Linked DNA regions of Homo sapiens: region 1 is linked to region 2. Evidence: promoter capture Hi-C in human tissues and cell types (Jung and others, 2019). All regions are on one chromosome and are shown on one strand. Each heading gives the region's core, a stretch centred on a gene start or on the middle of the fragment in contact. The rest is flanking DNA. Distances are from core to core; before and after follow the strand shown.

Region 1 (5,121 bases), core at 1,472-3,971, 140 kb after region 2:
TTTCCCAGGCTGGTCTCAAACTCCCAGGCTTAAGCAATCCACCTACCTCAGCCTCCTAAAGTACTGGGATCACAGGTGTGAGCCACCATGCCTGGCTGGGTTTTTTTTCTTTTCTTTTCTTTTCTTTTTGTGGAGAAGGGGTCTCTTGCAATGTTGCCCAGGCTGGTCTCGAACTCCTGGGCTCAAGCACTCCTCCCACCTTGGTCTCCCTAAATGCTAGGATTATGGTTGTGAACCACCACACCCAGCCTTTTATTTTTTTTTAAAGGCACAGAACTGATATGACCGGATAAGTTTTATAAAAAATAAAATAAAATCAGTGCTTTTCCCATTATGTTTTTTCCCTTTTTCTCTTCCTATTCAAGCAACTAGGCTGTTCTGTTCTCACTGTCTTGGGAAAGGTATGTTATAACCAAAAAAAGAAAATTAAAATTTTTAAAGGGAAAAGAATGAAGCAGATGGATGCCGGAACCAGACTCCCTGGGTCCACCACATTCTAGTGGCAAGACCTTGATGAGGTAATTTAACTGTTTTGCACTTCTGCTTCCTTATCCATAAAACAGGGCAGTAGCTACCTTGTAAAGATTTTGTGAGAATTAACCAAGTAAAGATACATAAAGTGCTCAGAACTGTGTCTGGCACATAGTAAGCACTACTTTGAAAAGAAACCTTTACTTGGGGTACCTCTGCCTTTCTGAGTCCTTAAGACTCATTCCTCAACATTTCAGTGGTCTTAGAACGCCAGCTGGCTTCCAATACTAGATATACAATCCTATACTTGACCCCTAACATTTGAGGGAAATTCACAGCAATACTGATTCACTCCAATTAAACCAAGAGCTTTAAGCGCACAATCAACCCCAGGAATTCTGTTCTGCAGTCCCGAGGGGCACCTCTAATGATTTCTGCTCCTGGAGCCGTATCATATGTTGTTCTTATACCATAGATGAATTCTTCCTTGATGTTTCATCTTTGCCCTTCTAAAGGTCAAAGTCAACAGCAGACACCAGCAGGACAGTGCAGGGGCCAAGAGTACTTAGGCACTGTGTGTTCTCTCCTAGTTGCCTGATCTCTGTGTGCCTCAATCTCCTATATAATGAGGATACCAATAGGAACTGCCTACTCCATGGGGGGATGAGGGGTCAGAGTGAAGCCATGGAAAGGGCTTGGAACAATGTAAATGGTCAATCCACTTTGAAAACATAATGCTGAGTGAAAGAAGCCAGACATAAAATGCCACATATTGCATGATTCTATTTATATGAAATACCCAGGGACAGCAAATCCAGAGAGACAGAAGACAGATTAGCGGCTGTCGGGGTTAGGAACAGGGGAGGAATGACGGCTCAACAGGTAGAGGGTTTCCTTTTGGGGTGATGACAATATTCCAGAGCCAGATAGTAATGATGGTTTCTCAACAATGTCAGCGTACTAAATGTCACTAATGGTCGATTTTGTGTCACGTATATTTTACCACAATTTTAAAAATCACTTGCAAAAACTAAAAAGGTCAATAATGCCATCTATTGCTTGAATTACTACATAATTACTATAACATGTGCTAGGTCCCACCCAAGGCAAAAAAATGCCCTGCAAGCTCCTAGGAGGAGAGGGAATGCTATATGGGAGAAGTGGAAGAAGCGCGGGAAGGTGGGGTGGTGGGGTGGGAGGATGGGGGGAATGATGGGATAAGCTTCATAAATGTGGCATCATCTGAGACAGGCCCTGAAAGATGGCTAGGCCCTTAAGGGATAAGAATCAGCCAATACGAAGGCAGCACAGGCCGGATGAGGTGGCCCAGGCCTGTAATCCCAGCACTTTGGGAGGCCAAAGCGGGTGGATCACTTGTGGTCAGGAGTTCAAGACCAGCCTGGCTCACATGGTGAAACCCGGTCTCTACTAAAAATACAAAATTAGCTGGGTGTGGTGGCGGGTGCCTGTAATCCCAACTACTCGGGAGGCTGAGGCAGGAGAATCACTTGAACCCAGGAGGAGGAGGTTGCAGTAAGTGGAGACTGCGCCACTGCACTCCATCCTGGGCGAAAGAGGGAGACTCTGTCTCAAAAAATCAAAATAAAAATAAAAGGCCAGGCGTGGTGGTTCACACCTGTAATCCTAGCACTTTGGGAGGCTGCGGTGGGCGGATCACCTGAGGTCGGGAGTTCAAGACCAGCCTGGTCAACATGGTGAAACCCCGTCTTTACTAAAAATACAAAAATTAGCTGGGCATGGTGACCCAGTGCCTATAATTCCAGCTACTTGGGAGGCTGAGGCAGCAGAATCGCTTGAATGCGGGAGGTAGAGCTTGCAGTGAGTCGAGATCGCGCCACTGCAGTCCAGCCTGGGTGGCAGAGCGAGACTCTGTCTCAAAAAAATATAATTAAATTAAATTAAAAAAATAAGGCACAGGTACAGATACACAGGTGAGAAGTGAAGGGGACACTGGGGAGCTGCCAGAGAGCCACTAGAGTGACAGCCGTGAAGAAAAACTGGAGAAGTGGACTTGAACAGCCTGGAAATGACTTTTAAGTCTAGTTTTGTATTTACTAGCTGTGGGATATGGGGCCAAAATCTTACTGGTGAGCTTTCTATAAAATTAGAACACCCAAAATTCTCTCGAGTAAATGCTATAAGGATTAAATGAAATGATCAAAGGTGAAAGCCTGATCTAAACCTACAACACCACACAAAAGGAAGGGAAGGAGCCCTGTAAAACATTGTTTCTCAAACCTGACTGCACCTCAGAATCACCTGGGGAGTTTTAAAACATTCTGGGCCAGGCGTGGTGGCTCACGCCTGTAACCCCAGCACTTTGGGAGGCCGAGGTGGGGATGGATCACCTGAGGTCAGGAGTTTGAGACCAGCCTGCCCAATATGGCAAAACCCCGTCTCTATTAAAAATACAAAAATTAGCCAGGCATGGTGGTAGGCGCCTGTAATCCCAGCTACGGGGGAGCTGAGGCAGGAGGATAGCTTGAACCTGGGAGGCGGAGGTTGCAGTGAGCCAAGATCGTGCCACTGCACTCCAGCCTGGGCAACAGAGCGAGCAAAAAAACAAACAAACAAACAAACAAACAAACAAAAAAACATTCTGGTGAAGGGGTCCCACCTCCCAAGCCCATCAATCTTGGTGGCAGTAGTCTGGGGTATAGCTTAGAAGCTGGACTTTGAAAAACTCCCCAGAAGATTCTAAGCATGCAGTAAACATCAAAAACCACTGTTGTATTAACTTATTAATCAGCCAGCCTTCGAAAAGGCAGAGTAAAGCAATGCTTTGAAGGCTGGAACACTATACAGAGCTGACCCAAGAATCCACTGGGGGCCACCAAGGCAAAGTCAAGGTAATGCAGTTAACATCCACACCCCACCCTAAATGAGCTCCTTTAGAGCAACGCCCATACATTTGACCATTTTGTATTCCTCCCACAGGGCCTTACAGACACTAGATGTGCTGCAGTTGTTTTTTTTTTTTTTTTTTTCTTCAAGAAATAAATGAAATAGCTGAAATAAAACAGTTCTTGTCAGTAAATGGATGCAACTGTAACTATCTGGAAAACTTACCTATGTGGAAGAGCTCATTCCCTGAAGCGAGTTAATAAACGACATGTTACAGTAATTCTATTATAGTACATACAATCCTTTCCCTTTTAAAAGACAGCATTAAATTTTTCCTTTTTTTTTTTCCAGGAGCGTCTTTAATTAAGAGGAACTTCATCGCTTTTAGAATAAAGCTAAATACCTCTGGACTTCAAAGCAAAATAAATCCCATAGCTCTAGAATACTGAGGTATCCTAAACAAATACCTCCGACCTTAAATTTCCTGCTCTCCCATTACAATATCCCATATCCCAGACCTCCTTTCTCAGGTTTCATCCTGGAGTGTCCCATTGGATGTGTCACTGCTGGCTGTGTGCATGACCTGGGCCAGTTCCAAGCCAGCTTGGGCCCCTCCCTGGACTTTAACCAGCCATTCTTGCTACCATCAAAGCAGTGCTGATGCCACTCAATACAGATTGTAACCGACTGAGCAGAGGTGATATGGGCCTTGGGTCTCAGGCCCCAGCAGGCAAGAGCAATAAAAGGACTCCAGTCGGTGAAATGCCATGGAATGGGCTGTCAAGAGTGCGCTGCAGGTTAATAACTAACCCCGGTAGGCTTTTACAGTCTACCGGCCTTCCCTGGATGATGCCCACATCCATCACATGGGCAGGAGAGCTGGAGAAAGCCCCAGCTCTCATGTGCCAGGGTTGAGAACCCTGGTCGCTTTCAGAAGAGATGGCAGAGTCTCAGAGGGGCAAAGAGGCTCGCTGGATGTCGCTCATAAGCGCTGGGGGGCTACGTGCAGGAAGCTACACTTGTTACACCCTTGTTACTGCTCATTTGCCACGGTGAGCAGCAGCAGACTGGAGTGAGCAGCCTTCCAAGGCAGATGGGAAAGGCCTTTCGCCGCCTCCAGAATGAGATTTTGGACCAGGTGTTCTCCAACGGTTCCCTCAGAGGCGAACCCCACTGGTTCAAGCTGTCCCACACTCGGCCCAATTCCCTTCTCATTGATTCTGCATTCCCTAAAATGTCTGCTGGCATCTCCAGCCAGGAGAGACAGAATGGGTTCATGGAGGGCCTCCCGAGTATGTGAAGGGGACCCAAGCAGGAGTGAGCTAGAGGGAGGAAGAACCCACACTCGAGGAAGACATTCAACAGCTGATCTCCACTCAGCCTTCTTGAGGATAAGGATCTTACTGATCTCTGTGTGCTCTGATCAGATGCTTGAAATAAGACCATTCCCGGTACTAACTGTACCTCAGGGGTGACCAATGTTGAGGATGCAATCAACAAAACTCGGAAAGTAACAAACTGTAATAGGACAAACGGCCTCACTTCTCCAACAGATAAATGGCTCAAAAAGGTGAAGAGAAGGTTTTTAGGTTAAGAGTCTTAGATAGAATATCTATCAAATGCAATGAAAGAACCTTGCTGAAAACCACAGAAGAAAATTTGAACATTGGCCGAATATCTGACACTAAAAAATAATTGTTCATTATTTTTAGAAGTCTTGATGAAGTCTTGTGATGTTGCCCAGGCTGGCCTCGGATTCCTGGACTCAAGTGATCCTCCCATCTC
Region 2 (5,255 bases), core at 2,341-4,840:
CATTCCCACCTCCACTATTCAAATTCCTTTTTTTCTGATTTTTGAACTCAGTTTCATGACTATTTGAGACATAAGAAGGGGGTACCCTGCACAGAGGGAACAAGTAGCCTAGTCACTAGAAATGGACAACCTCAAGTGTATTGATAGAATAAGTCAAAGGCATTACCGGCACTTCTTCACTTGCCACGTCCTCCAAGGTCAGTCAGGTTCCCTCCTTCCTTCTCCACTGAATCTGTCCTAGGAGAGTTCCACCCATAACCTCTCATCTCCTGAAACCATCGATAATTTTGAGCCTTCATGCTATCAGGCCACACCTTGGTAGGAAACAGGCTCTTTTCCTTTGCCTTCTGGGACACCCCTCTCTCCTGGTTCTTCTTCCCTCTCTCTGGCAACCCCTCCTCAGCCCCCGCTTTTAAGGCAATGTCACTGTTTATTTCTAAGCGTCTTGGGAAAGTCTCTATTCAGGACCCACAGGGATGAAGCCTAGGCCCAGGGTAATCTAGCAGAGGCACTGCCTCTGATAGCCCCACGCCACTTACATCTCAACTAGCACCCACCGGATGGTGGTAGAATCTGTATGCAAAGAGGAAATGAAACTGTCAGAGAGAAGAGGGTAGGAGAAGAATGGAGAGTAAAAGCTCAGGGTGAGGGAAGGGGAGATATGGTTGTAAAAGGAAGTTGAGCCAGGGAGGACATTTCAGATAAAGCAGTTGAATATTCATTCAGGGAGCAGGTTGATTTTTTTTTTTTTTTTTTGAGACCGAGTCTCACTCTGTTGTCCAGGATGGAGTGCAATGATGCAATCTCAGCTCACTGCAACCTCCCCACCTCCTGGGTTCAAGCAATTCTCCTGCCTCAGCCTCCTGAGTAGCTGGGATTACAGGCGTGCACCACCACGCCCGGCTAATTTTGTATTTTTAGTAGAGACGGGGTTTCACCATGTTGGCCAGGCTAGTCTCGAACTCCTGACCTCCTGATCCACCCACCTCAGCCTCCCAAAGTGCTGGGATTACAGTCGTGAAGCACCACGCCCGGCCCCATCACAGACTTTTGAGTGCAATGCCAACAGGTTAGAGGCAGACTTCAGGAGGGTTAAACCAGTTTTATGTGCAGAATGGTGGGGGCGCGAAGCAGACACACTAGGGATCGGTACAAAGCCCTGCTGCCTGCTATGTGATCACCTCACCTAAATGCCTTCCCTCTTCTGTGTCACTGAAGTCTTTCCTACTTCATGGCTTGACTCTATAAAAGCTGTCCTTGATGGCTGTGGCCCACCTGATGTCCACATTCATAAAACTTTCTGGACTATACAATGAACATATCATTCTCTCTGCAGAGAGACTCAAAGGACGTACAGAATCTGAGCTTATCCTTCATTTGTTAGATGCATGAGCCCAATCAGAATACAAGTTCTCACATACCACATTTAAGTCACCTGGCAGCACTAGGCTGTGTACAGTGTAAAGATACATTAGATGCTTTCAGAAACAGACGGGCTTCGGAATATTTATTCTTTTCCAGAGTGACAGATTCCGCCACATGGCTCTCCAGCTAGAAGACTACATTTCTTAGTCTCCCTTGAAGCTAGGTCATTGTAACTATGTTTTTGCCAAAGGAATGTGAACAGCAGTAATGTGGGCAGCCAGCCTAAAAGGTAACTACTTGCCCTGAACTTCTCTTTTTCTTTCCCTCAATCTTGAACAAGGACATGCAACCTGGCTTCTACTGTACTGATGAGGACAAAGCCTCAGGGGGATGGCAGAGCAACAAGATGGAAAGAACCCGGGTCCCTGAATGACCTTGCGGAACAGAGTCATCCCACCAGCCCCAGACCAACCAGACTCTTATCAGAGAGAAAAATAAACTAGCTTATTTAAACCACTATATGTTAAAATCTCTAATTCAGCAGTTAAGCCTCTACTTAATACATTTCCCCAAATCCATTCTCTCCATCTTCTTTAATACAATAATTCTGATTTTTGAACTGGGCATATTATGTCTCAGCTAATAGGCTCTATTTTACATCCTCCTTTGTACCTATGTGCAACCATATGATTAAGTTGTGGCCAAAGAAGTATAAAAATTGTTATATGAAACTTCCGAGTAATCCCTTTATAAAGTAGTCAGTGACCTTCTTCCTGCTTCATTTTTCCCACTGTCTAGAATGTGAACATAATGGCTGTAGCTCAAGCAGTTATTTTGAACCATGAAGTTACATGCTAAGAATTGTGAAGAAACAGAAGGGCAGGATCCAGAGACACTGGTGACCAAGGAGCCTCCAGACCAGTTCTGGATTACCTATTTCTAGTTTTCTTTCTGTAAGAGAGAAACTTCTATCTTGTTGAAGCTATTAATGTTTGCTTGTTGTATACAGCTGAACTTAATCCTAACAACAGACACATCCACTAACAGATATGAGCTCCTGGGACTCAACACTTCAAACCCCAGCTTGATGGTTGGATATCCCTCTTAGCAGAAGAAAAGGAAAGTCACTACTTCCCAAAGTTGCTTAAAGAGGCCAGTTTCCATTCCTTCTGACCACCATCCGCTTGGCTTTTGTGCTCGTTGAAGCAGCTCTACAGGGAGGCCCTTGGCTGACAAACTCCCAGTCTGCGGGCCCAGCAGGCCACAACAATGGTGGCTCGCACTAGGGGACCATAACATATGTGGCGTCATAAAAGAGGAGGGATGGGAGTGGGGAGGCTGATGTGACCCAGCTCTGACGGGTCAGTGAGCAGGAACAGAATGCTACGAGGTGGGCGCTGGTCACTGCAAATTTAAGTCAATACAGACAGGGAGGAAATAAGGCAACCTCTCTCTTTAGGTTGGGGTTTTTCTGCTTCCCCCTAGCTGCCCTGGCCAGATGGCGGCCTCCTCCCCTATAACCCAACCCCAGGCGGCAAAGGTGGAAGCCAGATCTAAGAACTGGGGGAGCTTAGACTCAGCACCCACCCCTATCCACAGCCTTGCAGAACTTGGATGACCCCTCCCTCTCCCAGCCTCACTCTCCCCATCTGTAAAGCGGGCGGCAGGCATTGACAGCTCTTTGGGCCTTTCCTCCAGGCCGGCGGAGGCCTGGGCACTGCGCTCCCCATCCTGGCCTCGCCTCTGCAAGAGCTGCCTCCACGGACATCTTTTCCGACCCCCTCCCCCTCCCTCGCCCCCTCTCCTCGTTCCCCCGATCCTCGGTCCCCCACCCCCGGTCTCCCCTCCCGCAACCCCTCGCCCTCCCGCAGCCTCACCCTCCTCCGACAGGTAGCGCAGGTCGTAGAACTCCCCCGCGAAGGTGCCGTAGGAGGAGTCGTGGCGCGGCACCGCCTCGTCGGCGCCCGTGTCCCCCCGCGCGCGTCCCCGGGGTCCCCGGCCCCCCGGGCCCGCACCGTCGTCCGCGGGGCTGGCTGCGCAGGCGGCGGGCCCCGTCAGTAGCAGCAGGAGCAGCGACGCCCAGACCCCCGGGTGCTGCCGGGGCGGCCGCGCCATCCGTGCGCACAGATCCCGCAGCCAGGCCGCTCGGGCCGCAGCGGGGGCGCCGCGGGCGCGGGCCGGGACTGAGCCTCCGCCGAGGCCACCAGCACGCGCCCGCGCAGCCGCGGAGCCTCCCGCACCCCCGCCTCCCTGCCTCGGTCTGCGCATCCTCGCTCCAGCACCGCAGCCTCCCCCTTCTTCTTGGAACCCCCCTCCTCCCCGCACCGATCTCTCCTTCCTAGCAGCTTCCCTTCTACCGTCCTTCTTTCCATTCTCCCCATCTCCCCGACTTCCCTCCACGCAGGCAGATTTGGCCCTTCTGGCCCCTTGCTACTCCGGAGTGTGGTCCGCGGACCGGCAGCATCAGCATCACCTGGAAGCTTGTTAGCATCGCTGAGGCCCCACTCCAGACCCATGAAGCGGGATGTTCATTTCATCAAAATTCCCAGGAGATCCCAATGCACGTTCAATTTATGAAACGCTCCTCTAGAGAGTTTACCCTGGACACACCTGGTCAGTGCTGCCTCCTCAACCTTGTGCCGGCACTTTTTGGTTTACATAAAGCACTTGCTAGACCTATTATTTCTTGGATCATCACAGAAGGAACTTGAAATTGCAAGACCCCCACAATAGAGCTAGGTAAACTGAGGTGTTTAGAGACAGAGAAAACTGGATTCACCTGCTTCCTCTCCAGGCTCTTGCGGTGTGTAATCAACAGAGGCTGGTGCCAGTAGGTAACCTGTTCCCCTTCAAAACTAGGCTTCTGGTTTACTCTCTTTCCCTGCAGCAAGCACGCGCAGGCCTTGGAAGGCCCACACCGTATCTGAGGGCCATGCTGAATTGTTGATTTTTCTCAAATCCATTCCTGCTGCTTGCAGTTCACTTTTGGCTATTTACTCAGCCATCCATTGATTCACACCAAGCATTTGCTTTATGGCAGGTCCCAGGGTTCTCTTTTGATGATGGTTGTTGGGGTGATATATTCGAATTGCTAAGCTGTTTTCCATCAGAGAGGCGGACGCAATTCCTTTCAGGCTGGTGTTGCAGAGCCAGCATTTTAACCTGCTTTTCCTATTTTATTATTTTATTTTATTGCATAAACAAAATAATTATGGAGGCAGAAAAGCATAGAGGTCCCAAATGCAGACCTAGAAGTCAGACTGCCTGATCTCTCATGATTAGTCATTGACATGATGCAATGAAGATTAGGGAAGATCATAGAGGTAAGGATCAATAGGGTTCAGTGCTGTAAGTGGCATGCACACATGTACACAATATTGTGAAATGTTAATATTCAAAAGGAAACTAGTGATCTTAACCCTTTATGGCCTGATTGGCTGAGAGATAAGGGTAGTGCTGTTGAAACAGGGGAGACATGATGGGGGACTTAGAAGTCAGGTATTTTCTATTAGGTATCAGCTAACAGTGGGCTGTCCAACTGGAATTTAAACATATTAATCCTGATGGCTGAATTGAGGTGTAATTCATGAAAACCTTGGGCTTCACTAGGTCCCCCAACATAGCAGTTGTCACAAAAAATAGATCAGATTATTTGAAAAAGGTAAGATGAACTATGATTACTTTAAAAACTCAAGAGACTTCTTCCCAAAAAGCATAGCGTGGCAATGCATAACATTCTAAAAAAGCTGATCCAACAGATTGAAAATCTGTTAAAGTGTAGTCCTTCAAAAAAAAAAAAAAAAACAAAAACAAAAACAAAAACCTTAAACCTTTCTTAAAAATTAAAATTTCTTTATTTTCTTTTCTTCTCTTTCTGTTCACCAGGGAAG

The links. The method cuts DNA at HindIII sites, captures the fragments that hold promoters and counts their contacts. A contact is called where the count stands out against the background at its distance.
Region 1: a fragment that was not itself captured here is called in contact with the fragment with the promoter of FRRS1L in region 2 in 1 of the 25 tissues and cell types used here (IMR-90 fibroblasts).

The regions. Positions count from the first base shown.
Region 1 is chr9:109,303,556-109,308,676 of GRCh38, forward strand. The region is part of intron 1 of EPB41L4B (erythrocyte membrane protein band 4.1 like 4B); the gene reads right to left. Among named protein-coding and RNA genes, the nearest start is that of EPB41L4B, 15 kb to the right of the region's middle. The HindIII fragment of the contact is 6,787 bases long and covers 1-5,121 here.
Region 2 is chr9:109,163,659-109,168,913 of GRCh38, forward strand. It overlaps FRRS1L (ferric chelate reductase 1 like), which reads right to left and starts at 3,591. Exons shown (of 5, transcript NM_014334.4): 1 at 3,243-3,591. The coding sequence starts at 3,480. The HindIII fragment of the contact is 7,141 bases long and covers 1-4,597 here.